Linked DNA regions of Homo sapiens: region 1 is linked to region 2. Evidence: promoter capture Hi-C in 16 types of primary human blood cells and fetal thymus (Javierre and others, 2016). All regions are on one chromosome and are shown on one strand. The core of a region is centred on a gene start or on the middle of the fragment in contact, and the rest is flanking DNA. Distances in the headings are between cores, read along the strand shown. Region 1 holds the start of TIMM44 (translocase of inner mitochondrial membrane 44). Region 2 holds the start of CD320 (CD320 molecule).

Region 1 (6,894 bases), core at 3,362-5,861, 370 kb after region 2:
CAAAACAAAAACAAAAACCCTCAAGAGCACAGATAGTAGTAACATGTAGCAGCATAATTAGGAAGTGATGAATTTTGCATTATTACTTTTGTTCTAATATAATCTATTTGATCTTAAGTTTATACAATTAATTGTTTACATATTGGCCATGTTTAACAAGAGGCTTTGAATTCTTGAAGATGTGCCGGCTGGCTCTTGCGAGTCAGTGCAAGCTGGCCCCAGCATGCCTCTGTAAAACCATCTCCACTCACTGAAATCTGGCTCCCAGGCCCACCACTCACCCAAAACCCCTCTTGCTTATCTCACCAATGACCTCCATATTGCAAAATGCAATGGCGGTGGCTACATTTCTGTCCTTGCCTTGCCTGAACTGTGCAGCACTCGCCTCTGCTGTTTCCATCTGCCTTCTCCAAGTTCCTCCAGATTGTCTTCCTTTTTTTTTTTTTTTTTGATGGAGTCTTGCTCTGTCGCCCAGGCTGGAGTGCAGTGGTGTGATCTCAGCTCACTGTAACCTCCACCTCTTGGGTCCAAGCGATTCTCCTGCCTCAGCTTCCCAAGTAGTTGGGACTACAGGCACTTGCCACCACGCCCGGCTAATTTTTTGTATTTTTAGTAGAGATGGGGGTTCACCATGTTAGCCAGGATGGTCTTGATCCCCTGACCTCATGATTTGCCCATCTCGGCCTCCCACAGTGCTGAGCGCAGTGGCACACGCCTGTAATCCCAGCAATTTGGGAGGCCAAGGCAGGTGGATCACGAGGTCAGGACTCGAGACTAGCACGGCCAAGATGGTGAAACCCCGTCTCTACTAAAAATACAAAAATTATCCGGGTATGGTGGCGGGCGCCTGTAGTCCCAGCTACTCGGGAGGCTGAGGCAGGAGAATGCCATGAACCTGGGAGGTGGAGCTTGCAGTGAGCCGAGATCACGCCACTGCACTCCAGCCTGGGTGACAGACTGAGACTCAGTCTCAAAACAACGACAACAACAAAAAATTGTTTTTTAGAGATGGAGGTCTCGAGGGGGCATGGTGGCTCATGCCTGTAATCCCAGCATTTTGGGAGGCTGAGGTGGGAGGATCACCTGAGGTTCAGGAGTTCGAGACCAGCCTGACCAATATGGAGAAACCCCGTCTCTACTAAGAACACAAAATTAGCTGGGTGTGGTGGCACATGCCTGTAATCCCAGCTACTTGGGAGGCTGAGGCAGGAGAATCACTTGAACCTGGGAAGCAGAGGCTGCGGTGAGCCAAGATCGCGCCATTGCACTCCAGCCTGCGCAACAAGAGTAAAACTCCATCTCAAAAAAAAAAAGGCCGGGTGTGGTGGCTCACGCCTGTAATCCCAGCACTTTGGGAGGCCGAGGCAAGCGGATCACGAGGTCAGGAAATCGAGTCCATCCTGGCTAACATGGTGAAACCCTGTCTCTACTAAAAATACAAAAAATTAGCTGGGTGTGGTGGCAGGCACATGTAGTCCCAGCTACTCGGGAGGCTAAGGCAGGAGAATGGTGTGAACCTGGGAGGCGGAGCTTGCAGTGAGCCAAGATCGTGCCACTGCACTCCAGCCTGGGCGACAGAGTGAGACTCTGTCTCAAAACAACAAAAAAAGAGATGGAGGTCTCATGCTGTCACCCAGGGTGGAGTGCAGTGGGTGATCATAGCTCACTGCAGCCTCTAACTAATGGGCTCAAGAGATCCTCCCACCTCAGCCTCCTAAGTAGCTGGAATTCCAGGCGAGAGACACCATGCTTGGCTTATTTTTTTATTTTTGTAGAGATAGGGTCTCGTTATGTTGCCCAGACTGGTCTGTAACTCCTGGGCTCAAATGATGCTCCTGCCTCAGGCTCCTGAGTTGCTGGGATAATAGGACTGAGCCACGGATCCTGGCTTAAAGGAGTCTTCTATCTCCACTTTATCTTTGGGTCTTTGACATGCTTATATGACACACTGCCTCTGAGTGTCCAATGCTGTAGTTTTCTTTCTTTCCTTTCTCTCTCTCTCTTTCTTTCTTCTTCTTTTTTTTTGACACAAGGTCTCTCTCTGTTGCCCAGGTAGTGTAGTGTAGTGTAGTGTAGTGTAGTGGCACGATCACGGCTCACTACAGCCTTAACTTCCCGGGCCTCAACGATCCTCCCATCTCAGCCTCCTGAGTAGCTGGGACTACAAGCACATGCTACCACGCCAAGCTAATGTTTTGTATTTGTTGTAAAGAAGAGGTCTTCACTATGTTGCCCAGGCTGGTCTCAAACTCTTGGGCTGGAGAGATCCTCCCGCCTCAGTGTCCCAAAGTGCTGGGATTATAGGCATGAGCCACCGCGCCCGGCCAAACTCCGTACTTTCAACCACAACTAAGAATCCATATTTCTAGCCCAGACCTTATTCTTAGCAACACACCTGTGTACACCAACCGCTTAACTAGTTTGCTCCTCTTGGCATCAAGACATCTCGAACAAAGCCAGAGTGGAAGCCCTCATCTCTTACCCCCACCTTGAGGGGGAGCTCCTGAGATGGAGAACACAAGTCTATCCATCGCAGAAGCCAGGAATGCATGCTCTCCGGGGCCAAGCTGCCTCCCTTTGAAATAATGAAGTCCCATAAACCCATATCACAGGTTAGTAATGCAAAAAGACCGGGTGCGGTAGCTCACGCCTGTAATCCCAGTGACTCAGAGGCTGAGGCAGGAGGATCGCTTGAGCTTGGGAATTGGAGGCTGCAGTGAGCTAGATTACGACACTGCACTCTAGCCTGGGTGACAGAGCAAGCCTCTGGCTCTATAAAAAAAAAAAAGGATCCAATAAGACAAACAGCAACAGCAACATACATTAGCTCTCCCAGGGGACCAACCCTCCTCCTCATACCCGGATTGCATGGCCATGTTAAAATACCGCCACCTGGTGGCGGCATTCTTCGAATGGAAAATAGCATCTGGGGTGCTGAAATGACAAAGGCCTGAGCGTCTTCAGATCAGAGTGTCAGTTCACACTGAATCGAAGTAGGACTGGACCACAGTCAGCCCGCTCTCAGCTTCCTCTTCTTATTCGGGGTCAAAACCAACAGGCGTCTTCCCAAAGCGCCGCACAAGAGTGGGCTCCTTCGCTTTCTCGGAGCGACTCACTTGCTGGTCTCTCAGCCATTGTCAATCAATCAGTCATTGCAGGGGCAGCCATAGACAATTACTCTGGAGCTGGTCCGCCGGTCAATCAGAATCCAATCGAATCCGTCCTTGTGGTCGGTGGATCCACGTGCCTGTACCACCTGCCACCAGCGCCCGGCGCGTTCTGTAGCCGAATCACCGCAAGTGACGGAATACACGCCCCTGGGCTCCGCCCCCTCGTAGTCGCGCCCAATCACAGATCTGACCCTCCCAGGAGTGCCCTCCCCCGGGCCACATCCAGTCACGGGCCCCGTCCTTCCAAAACACTGCCCTATCAGAGGTCAAGCTCTCTAGGCATTCCCTACCCTTTTAATGCCCCGCCCTATGACGGACCCAATCGGAGGGCTCTCCCTACCCGAAACCCCGCTCCTGGAGCGGCTTTTCTCAGGCTTGCGCGGCTCTAGGCCGAAGCGGCGGATGACGCAACCGGGCCGCGCCGCGAGAAGGTCACACGATTCTCCAACATGGCGGCGGCGGCCCTGCGGAGTGGCTGGTGCCGCTGTCCACGGGTGAGCGGCGGTGCGGCGCTGGCAGGGCGAGCTTAGGGGTCTTCTGGGCCTTCGGCCACCAAGGCTTTCTTCTCAGACCCTTGGCCTTCGCGACCCTTGCTTGGGCTCCTTAGAAAGCTTGGGGTTAGATCTTTGGGTAGCAGAGGCCAGGACAGGGGGCACAGAGCGTGGCCTGAGGGCGGGGACCGAGCTTACCGGGCAGGGGGCGGCGATGCGCGGGACCTGGGAGGGAGCTGATCACCCTTCGCCCTCTGATCAGACTCCACGTATACAGGAGAGAGAATGGTAGCCGGGGCGGCGGCGTCCCGTGGAAAAAAGTAGAGGGGAAGGCAAAAAAACGTGAAATTCACAGCTCGCGGTTAAATGCCAAGTTCTCTACCGAGAGCATTTCTTGTCTCGTTTCTTCTAACGTTCATTGTGGATGTGCGAGAGGTGGTTCGCGCCCTAGCAGGCTCTTGGGTCCACAGGGCAGTGGCAGTCAAGACGTGTAAGGCGCACTCAGAAAGTAGTACTTCATATTGCTCGTGCTCTTCGTTTTTTCTTTTTTCTCTTTTTTTTTTTTTTTTGAGACAGAGTTTCGCTCTTGTCGCCCAGTCTGGAGTGCAATGGCGCGATCTCGGCTCACTGCAACTTCTGCCTCCTTCTGCCTCCGGGTTCAAGCGATTCTCCTGCCTCAGCCTCAGGTGGATCACCTGAGGTCAGGAGTTCGAGATCCACTGGCCCACATGGTGAAATCCCATCTCTACTAAAACCCCATCTGTACTAAAAATACAAAAAAATTAGCCGGGCATGGTGGCGCGCTCCTGTAATCCCAACTACTTGGGAGGCTGAGGCAGGAGAATCACTTGAACCCGGCAGGCGGAGATTGCAGTGAGCCGAGATCCTGCCACTTTACTCCAGCCTGGGCAACAGAGGGAGACTCCGTCTCAAAAAAAAAAAAAAAAGTTATCCTCAAGTAAATACAGGAGATAGTAGGCACCTGTGTAAGTTTGGGATGTTGCATAGGGTTCTCAGAGGTAGGAGGCAGAGAACAGAGAGAAAAACGGCCCAGGAAATGTGGAAATGGTGGAGAAGTTGTACCTGGTCTTTTGACATCAACACGCCAGGTTCTGTGCTGGGTGACAGGGTGCCGAGCTGAACAGGACCTGCACAGAGCTTTTTTTTTTTCCCCCAATTTTTTATGGAGGCAGGGTCTAGCTATGTTGCCCAGGCTGGTCTCAAACTCCTGAGCTCAAACGATCCTTCCGCCTCAGCCTCCCAAAGTATCGGGATTACAGGCATGAGCCACCAGCTCAGTGCCTGCACAGAACTTAAGGCAAGATCTCGGCTCACTGCACCCTCCACCTCCCGGGTTTAAGCAATACTACAGGTGTGTGGGACTACAGGTGTGTGCCACCACGCCCGGCTAATTTTTGTATTTTTGGTAGAGACGGGATTTCACCATGTTGGCCAGGCTGATCTCGAACTCCTGACCGGGTGATCCTCCCACCTCAGCCTCCCAACGTGTTGGGATTACTGGCGTGAGCCACCGCGCCCAGCCAGCAAGTGCCTTTTACATGAGATCAGCCCAGTCTTTGCCCAGAGCGACTCCCCTAAATTACTCTGTTTATAGCTCAACCCTTGAGGAGGACATTGTAGGTTTATTCCAGAGTTGTCCCTGGGGCAACACATTATCGATGTTTGTGTCTGAAAAATCCAGTTCTCTCATCTTTGGAGGCTGGCAGAAATGGGGTGGGCTCGCAAGAGAAGACTGCTTGCCACTAGCATAGAAGCTTAGAGTGCCTACTTTCAGACTAAGGGATTAAATTGTACATTTAGCCTTCTTCCCCCCATGGGTTGGCATTTCCTGGGACCTGTCCGTTTTCCCCCAGTTTCAGGGGCACGAGGATAGATGTAGGCCCTGGAGGTACAGACACAGCATTTTCTCTTTCCACCAGCTTCTGCTTGCTTCTCAGACTTTGGGAAGATTACAGAGTGCCCGGCATGCATCAGGCATAAGATACAAATTGGCCAGTGAGGCCAGGTGCAGTGGCTCATGCCTGTAATCCCAGCACTTTGGAAAACCGGGGGAGGGGTGGATCACCTGAGGTCAGGAGTTCGAGACCAGCCTGGCCAACATGGCAAAACCGCTTCTCTCCTAAAAATACAAATATTAGCCGGATGTGATGGCGCATACCTGTAATTCCAGCTACTCGGGAGACTGAGGCAGGAGAATCGCTTGAACCCAGGAGGCATAGGTTGCAGGGAGCTGAGATCGCAGCACTGCACTCTAGCCTGAGACTCCGTCTCAAAAAAAAAAAAAAAATGGCCAGTGAGTTGCAGGTGACCCTGCTGTTTTGTGTGTGGTCTGCTTACTTCTCAGTCAACCTCTTGTTAGAATGGATCTTTCTCTTCTCTCCCCCCAATTAGAGATGCCTCGGCAGTGGAATCCAATTTCTTTCCAGCCACAACCTACCCCATGGGTCGACCTATCAGATGCGCCGGCCGGGCGGAGAGCTGCCACTGGTGAGTGACTCAGGATGCTCGGGCCAGCAGACACAGGGGAGGCCCGAAAATTCAGATCCCATTGGCAGGAGGGAGGGGTGGGGCTGTAGAGGTGGCTCGTACCATCTCGGTGGTGGGCCTTCTGTGTCCGGGGCTTTCAGAATGACAGATCCCAGTGTGCCTGGCCTTCTCGGTCCCAGAAACACTTGACCTGCCTCTTGCTTGATGTCGTAAGGGGATAAGGTGCTGTCAGAATAGCCCTTTATGTTGGCTCTAATGCTTGGAAGAGACCCCTGTATTGAACTGAATTCTACTTCCCTGTGACCTCTGCCCGTGGGTACCTCACCAAGCATAGCTGTTTCCTTTTCTAGAAGATAGCCCTTTGATCATTGGTACAGAGTCACCTTGTCACAACCAGACCTCAGTTTCTCCTGGTCATTCCTCTTCAACTGTGCTTCTGTTGGTGTCTCAGCATCGTGAGGACAGAAGCCCAAAACCTGACTCCCTTCCCCAGACCTGTACATTCGGGCAGCGCGTACATTCTGTCTCCCTCTCTCTCTGCGCCCAGAGCCTCAGCTCAGCTGCCTCCTTGGAGGCAGCTACCTACCTCTCCAGTCCTGTCCTGGGGCCATCGTGGGTGTGGGACAGGACCTGTGACTCTTTCCCTTTCTTGTCTAGTCCCCCGCCACACACTCACTCCCATGGTTTGTAGCCCAAGAGTCTCTGGTAGGGCTGCGATAAGGTTG
Region 2 (7,081 bases), core at 4,582-7,081:
CCACCATGCCAGGCTAATTTTGTATTTTTAGTAGAGATGGGGTTTCACCATGTTGGTCAGGCCGGTCTTGAACTCCTGACCTCATGTGATCCTCTGGCCTCGGCCTCCCAAAGTGCTGGAATTACAGGTGTGAGCCACCATGCCCAGCCATGTATTCTTCTCAGAGACAGAAGTGTATAAACCTTGGGCTCCTCTCAAAAAGCAGTTTGGTCCCTGGTTTCAGGTGTCTTCTCTTAATTAAATGGGGACTCTAATAGCATCTACTTCAGAAAGCTGTTACGAGGGTTAGTCCTCATAATTAATATTTGTAAACTCTTGGAGCCTGGCACAGAGTCAGTGTCCTGCCTACCTCCTAATAACTCCACCAGTTAGATGGTGATGACCCCTCTTGCAGAAGAGGAAATCGAGGCTCACAGAAGCCAAGTGACTGGCCTGGGCCACACAGGCAGCAGTAAGCAGAAGCAGGATTTCAAACCAGTTTTCCTGGACTCCTGTTGGGGTCTGGGCTCTACAGCCAACTCACGGTGTGGGCAGTCCCTCAGCCTTCTTGAGCCTTGGTTTCTTCACATATAAAATAGGGATGCTAGACTTGCAGTGTGCTGAGATCTGGGAGGTGATGAGGTCAGGCAGGGCCTGCTCTGTACTTAAAACTCTGTGAGGTCTGGGCGCGGTGGCTCACGCCTGTAATCCCAGCACTTTGGGAGGCCGGGGAGGGCGGATCACCAGGTCAGGAGATCGAGACCATCGTGGCTAACATGTTGAAACCCTGTCTGTACTAAAAATACAAAAAATTAGCCAGGTGTGGTGGTGGGCGCCTGTAGTCCCAGCTATTCGGGAGGCTGAGGCAGGAGAGTGGTGTGAACCCGGGAGGCGGAGCTTGCAGCTCACTGAGATCGCGCCACTGCACTCCAGCCTGGGTGACAGAGTGAGACTCTGTCTCAAAAAAAAAAAAAAGAACTCTGTGAATAGGCCAGGCGCAGTGGTGTGTGCCTGTAATCCCAGTGACTCGGGAAGCTGAGGTGTGAGGATTGCTTGAGTTCTAGACTTGTTTGAGTAACACAGCGAGACCCCGTCTCTATTAGAAATTTTTTAGGCTGGGCATGGTAGCTCACGCCTGTAATCCCAGCACTTTGGGAGGCCGAGGTGAGAGGATCACTAGGGGTCAGGAGATCGACACCAGCCTGGCCAACAGGGCGAAACCCTGCCTCTACTGAAATACAAAAGTTAGGGGCGCTGTGGCTCTCGCCTGTAATCTCAGCACTTTGGGAGGCCGAGGCGGGTGGATCGCTTGAGCCCAGAAGTTCAAGACCAGCCTGAGCAGCATGGGGAAACCCCATCTCTACAAAAAATACAAAAATTAGCCGGGTGTGGTGGTGTGCACCCGTAGGCCCAGCTACTTGAAGGGCTGAGGCAGAAGGATCTCTTGAACCTGGGAGGTCGAGGAAGCTTCACTGAGCTGAGATTGCGCCACTGCACTCCAGCCTGGGTGACAAAGTGAGACCCTGTCTCATAAATAATAAACAAGAAAGAAAATACAAAAATTAGCCGGGAGTGATGGTGCACACCTGTAATCCCAGTTACTTGGGAGGCTGAGGCAAGAGAATCACTCAAGCCTGGGAGGCGGACGTTGCAGTGAACTGAGATTGTGCCACTGCACACCAGCCTGGGTGACAGAGCAAGAGTCTGTCTCAAAAAGAAGGAACTCAGTGGAGTGGTCCTTGTTGTCACCTTCTGATTCACTGGAGTCCAGCACCAGAGTGTGGCAAGATACCTTGTTCCCACACAGCCCCTTGCCATGCCCCCAGAGATGTGTGCATTTCCCAGGGAGGCCACTTCTGCCTTTTCCATTTCCTTGAGGCTCCTGGGAGGTCCTGTGCCTCCACCCCTGGGGCGCCTCCTCCATCACCCCACCCTCCTGCTTCCTTTCTTGCTTAGGCTGTGAAGTGTGTGAGCTCCACAGGCTCAGGTGGGTGGGGTGAGAGGGGAGGGTGCTCGTCCTGGACTTGCCGGCACAGGGTCTCCTGGGGGCTCCCTCTTGGCCAGCTCTGGGCCAGAGATGCGTTTTGCAGTTGCCATTTGCGCATGGATTCTCAGCCCCACCAGCCTGAGTCTTCCTGAGGGCGGTGCCCCATCTTCCTGGCTCTGCGCCCACACAGTAGCGCCTGCCATGCAGTTCTTGCCCAGTCTGAGGCAGGAATAGCTGGAGGCCATTGTCACCTGATCGCTTGGCCCTTTTGCCAGCATCCTGTTTTGAGGGGCAGCAGGAATGGGGGTGGGGGCCTTGTGTACGCTGGAGACCAAAAGTGGGAAGGGAGGAGCCCAGCTCTCCACAGTGGGTTCTGGGCCTGGGGGCCACAGCAGGGGGTTCATACAGGGCTCAGGGGAGAGAGGAGGCTTGCTAGCTCCCACCTGGCGTTGGCTGATCCTCTGAGGGGCTGCGTTGGAGGGGTTGGCATTCTGGAACACCCTGCTGTCTGTCCTGCAGGTCCAGAAAGTCCCTGTGGGTGTGTTTGTCCCGGGGCAGGTGTGGGCTCCCTCAGATCTTTCCACACTGTTCTTTGGAAACCCTCACTGAAGTCTTTCCCTCCTCCAGCTCTGCTGTAGCTGCCACTGAGAAGAAGGCGGTGACTCCAGCTCCTCCCATAAAGAGGTGGGAGCTGTCCTCGGACCAGCCTTACCTGTGACACTGCACCCTCACGGCCACCCGACTACTTTGCCTCCTTGGATTTCCTCCAGGGAGAATGTGACCTAATTTATGACAAATACGTAGAGCTCAGGTATCACTTCTAGTTTTACTTTAAAAAATAAAAAAATAGAGACAGAGTCTCACCATGTTTCCCAGGCTGATCTTGAACTCCTGGCCTCAAGCGATCCTCCTGCCTTGACCTCCCAAAGTGCTGGGATTACAGGCATGAGCCACCACACCTGGCCTGATTTTATTTTTATTTTTTAGACCTTCCCACTGAGGCCTCTGCTTGACCTTGGTCACCCTGTAGCTCAACGGGGAAGGCAAAGGACAGTGAGGGCTGCTTACAGGGAAGGCAGACCTAGGGCAGATCAGGAAAGGCCTCCCTGAGCCAGAAACCATTATGCTGGGGCTGTGGGATGAGAATGAGTTAGCTCCAGAAGGAAGGCAGCTGGTTCCTGGGGAGGAGATAGAAATCTGGCTGCAGGAGCCAGAGTTTTCGCGCTTGTCACCCAGGCTGGAACGCAACGGCACGATCTCAGGTCACTGCAACCTCTGCCTCCTGGGCTCAAGCAATTCTGCCTCAGCCTCCCGAGTAGCTGGGACTACGGGTGTGCACCACCATACCCGCTAATTTTTTTTTTTTTTTGTAGAGATGGCCAGGCTGGTCTCAAATTCCTGACCTCAGGTGATCCGCCCGCCTTGGCCTCCCAAAGTGTTGGGATTACAGGTGTGAGCCACCACGCCTGGCCCCTGATTTTAAGCAATACCCAGCTTACTTGGATTTTGGGGTGAAGTCAGTGCTGAGTCTCCCAACTCTGTTGGCACTCCAGGGGTGGGACAGACACTGTCCCTGGGTGCAGAGGCCCTGGAGACAGCACTGCCCTTTCCCCCAAAGGCCAGGCTCTGACCTTGAGAGTGGTGGGAGTGGGTGATCCTTCTGGGAGGTTGGACTCCCAGGACCGCTGGCTGTTGGGGAGCATTGATTGTGAAGACCAGTCAGGTGGGGTAAGGGGTGTATGTGCGGACACTCAGTAGGCCAGCCACAGACTTCTCACTTCTTTTTTTTTTTTGAGACAGAGTTTCGCTCTTGTTGCCCAGGCTAGAGTACAATGGCGCGATCACGGCTCACTATAACCTCTGCCTCCTGGGTTCAAGTGATTCTCTTGCCTCAGCCTCCCGAGTAGCTGGGATTACAGGCGCCTGCCACAAGCCCAGCTAATTTTTGTATTTTTAGTAGAGACGGGGTTTCGCCATGTTGGCCAGGCTGGTCTCAAACTCCTGACCTCAAGTGATCCGCCCACCTCTGCCTCCCGAAGTGTTGGGATTACAGGCGTGAGCCACCGCGCCTGGCCTAACTTCCATCTCTTGAGGGCTCCCACAGCCACTTCTCACATGAACCTTCCTCAGCACCTTCCCACTGAGGCTCCTGCTTGACCATGGTCACCCTGCAGCTCAACGGGGAAGGCAGAGGACAGTAAGGGCTGCTCACAGGGAAGGCAAACCTAGGGCAGATCAGGAAAGGCCTCCCTGAGCCAGATCCCATTATGCTGGGGCTGTGGGATAAGAATGAATTCGCCCCAGAAGGAAGGCAGCTGGTTCCTGGGGAGGAGACAGAAATCTGCAAAGGGAGGGTGTCCAAGTCTGGCTGCAGGAGCCACCCAGTGACCCTACGCAGGGGAGTGTCATGGCTTCCCCAGGGCACAGCCCCAGACCCTTCAGCAGCTAAAAAAGATCAGCTGTGGACCAAGAGGGTGCTGAGACCGCCCTGCCCTCTGGAAGGGGAAAGGCCACGGCTACAGGCAGCAGGTACCAGTGTCCCAGAGTGGGTCCTACAAAGGCTAACACCTTCCTGGAGAAGGTGGGATTCTGCTTGGGGCAAAAGGATGAATCAGATTCAGAAAGGTCAGGAGGGAAGGAAAGACTAGGCAGGGTGTGCAGAGGCCACAAGGAGGGCAAGACCCTAGGCAAGGCATGCCGCTGACGGCATCTGAACCAAGTTTTATGACCACAACTTTTTTTTTTTTTTGAGACAGAGTCTCACTCTGTCACCCAGGCTGGAGTTCAATGATGTGGTCTCGGCGCACTGCAACCTCCGCCTCCCGGGTTCAAGCGATTCTCCCATCTCAGCCTCCCTAGTAGCTGGGACTACAGGAGCATGTTACCACACCCGGCTAATTTTTGTATTTTTGGTAGAGACGGGAGTTTTACTATGTTGGCCAGGCTGGTTTAGAACTCCTGACCTCGTGATCCGCCTGCCTCGGCCTCCCAAAGTGCTGGGGTTAACAGGCGTGAGCCAGCGCGCCGGCCAACTTTTCTAACAAATGGGGTCTCACTGTCACCCACGCTGGAGTGCAGCCCCAAGTGATTCTCCCACCTCAGCCTCCTGAGTAGCTGGGACTACAAATTAGAGCCACCATGCCCAGCTAATTTTCTTTTTTCTTGAGGCGGGCGGGGACTTGCTGTGTTGCCCAGGCTGATCTCGAACTCCTGGGCTCAAGCGATCTGCCCGCCTCTGCTTCCCAAAATGCTGGGATCACACACGTGACCCACCGCGCCCGGCCTTTATTATTAAATTTAATTAATTAATTGATTTCCTTTCCTTTTTCCCCCCCAAGCAACCCGACTCCGAGAATGGACGTTTCATTTATTCATTTACTCACCAAATGTTTACTAAGAGCCTACTATGAGTCAAGCACTATGTGTCAGATCCTGAGAATAAAGCAGTGAGCAACAGAAGATCCCTGCCCTCCAGTAGCTAGCATTCTATGGGGACTCGGACAACAAACCAGAATAAGTAAATAAAATAAATTACCTGTCGGCGCCACAAAAGCAGTGGGATGAGGGAGGAAATGCGGAGTGCCTGAGGGGCGTGGCTGCCATATTAAAGAAGATCACGAGGCAGTAACATTTGCAGCAGTCCTCATTTGGAACGGGAAATAATGCAAATGAACACCAACAAATTCCTTCCCATCCCCAGAAGTTTCTAACTTCAAGCGGGCTCCATACCTTTCAACTGATCTGGTCACTGGGGAAAGTGGGGACGGGCCTCTAATTCTCTTTTCCCTGCTATTCTGACATTTACGGTACGCGTAGCCGCGGGCGCCGCAGAACTCAGGGGCTTGGGCCCCGCCCCAACCCCGCGCGTGCGCGTGCGCAGGGATAAGAGAGCGGTCTGGACAGCGCGTGGCCGGCGCCGCTGTGGGGACAGCATGAGCGGCGGTTGGATGGCGCAGGTTGGAGCGTGGCGAACAGGGGCTCTGGGCCTGGCGCTGCTGCTGCTGCTCGGCCTCGGACTAGGCCTGGAGGCCGCCGCGAGCCCGCTTTCCACCCCGACCTCTGCCCAGGCCGCAGGTGAGTGACGCCCCGCAGCGCGGGCTCCCACCCCTCGCGAGGCTTCGCCCCGCCGCCGCGCACCGACAACGCCTAGTCACTGGCTGCACCGCACGTCAGTTCATGACACTCCCCCAGCACGTGGACTTGGACTTCATCGCTTGTGGGAAGGCGCGCACTGGTGCTAGGAAGACCCCATGCTGGGGGAGGGGAGGAGGGTGTCTCCACCTGCCTTTAACGGTTTTGCTCCGGCCCTGCACACCGTCTCCACACCTGCTGTGCCCTGTCGTCCCCCATTGTCACCTCCAAGCCGCCCTTCATACCAGCGTGGTCAGGAAAGCTCTTAGCAGGCTCAGATTGTCCGACCGCTAATCACGCAGGACGGGTCACCTGGTGCCTCTCGCACCTTTGCCTTCCAAACCCTCGCGCCCAGGCCTTGTGACCGTTCCGCAACCGTCCCTGCCCTCCCAGTCTCTCCTCCTTTGTCCTCCATCCTTAGAGAACGCGAGGTCTCTCCCCCCCATGCTACTGCAGGCTCTCGCAGAGACTGGGGTCACAAGTTGAATATACCCCCGTGGACGTGTTCGCCCTGGCCTAAGAGGTATTGGTGGCCAGTGGGGACGGGCTCCCTCTCTGATACCCCTAGAGGCAGCTGGAGGGTTGGAGTGGCCTCCCTGTGCACTCAGGCACTCCCAACTTGCAGCCCTGGGCTCAGGCTCACACACTTTCCCAGCTCCTTTGTGCATTCCGCACTTCTAGGTCCCTGGACTCATCCCAAAGTCCCTGACATTCACGTTAAATGTTCCTGGGTTTTTTTTTGTTTGTTTTTTTTTAAGGAGGCAGCGTTCACGTTAACCAAGTACAAAAGTTTTTGTTTTTTTTTTTTTGAGTCTCCCTCTGTCGCCCTGGCTGGAGTGCAGTGCAATGTTGGCTCACTGCACCCTCCGCCTCCCGGGTTTAAGCAATTCTCATGCCTCAGCCTCCCGAGTAGCTTGGGACTACAGGCACCGTCACCATGCCCGGCTAATTTTTGTATTTTTAGTAGAGATGGGGTTTCACCAT

Evidence for each region. The method cuts DNA at HindIII sites, captures the fragments that hold promoters and counts their contacts. A CHiCAGO score of 5 or more calls a contact.
Region 1: a fragment that was not itself captured here is called in contact with the fragment with the promoter of CD320 in region 2 in 1 of 17 cell types (erythroblasts); the score reaches 5.3 in erythroblasts.

What each region holds. Positions count from the first base shown.
Region 1 is chr19:7,940,377-7,947,270 of GRCh38, reverse strand. It overlaps TIMM44 (translocase of inner mitochondrial membrane 44), which reads left to right and starts at 3,605. Exons shown (of 13, transcript NM_006351.4): 1 at 3,605-3,664; 2 at 6,074-6,169. The coding sequence starts at 3,620. RefSeq lists enhancers at 2,411-2,953, 2,954-3,497, 3,502-3,871, 3,498-4,040, 4,041-4,584 and a silencer at 3,402-3,471. The HindIII fragment of the contact is 1,655 bases long and covers 3,784-5,438 here.
Region 2 is chr19:8,307,108-8,314,188 of GRCh38, reverse strand. It overlaps CD320 (CD320 molecule), which reads left to right and starts at 5,831. Exons shown (of 5, transcript NM_016579.4): 1 at 5,831-6,040. The coding sequence starts at 5,899. NDUFA7 (NADH:ubiquinone oxidoreductase subunit A7) reads left to right here. Exons shown (of 4, transcript NM_005001.5): 4 at 2,594-2,905. The coding sequence ends at 2,684. RefSeq lists enhancers at 1,646-2,248, 5,003-5,532, 5,588-6,327, 6,212-6,341, 6,328-7,068 and silencers at 5,729-6,067, 6,042-6,131. The HindIII fragment of the contact is 66,850 bases long and covers 1,449-7,081 here.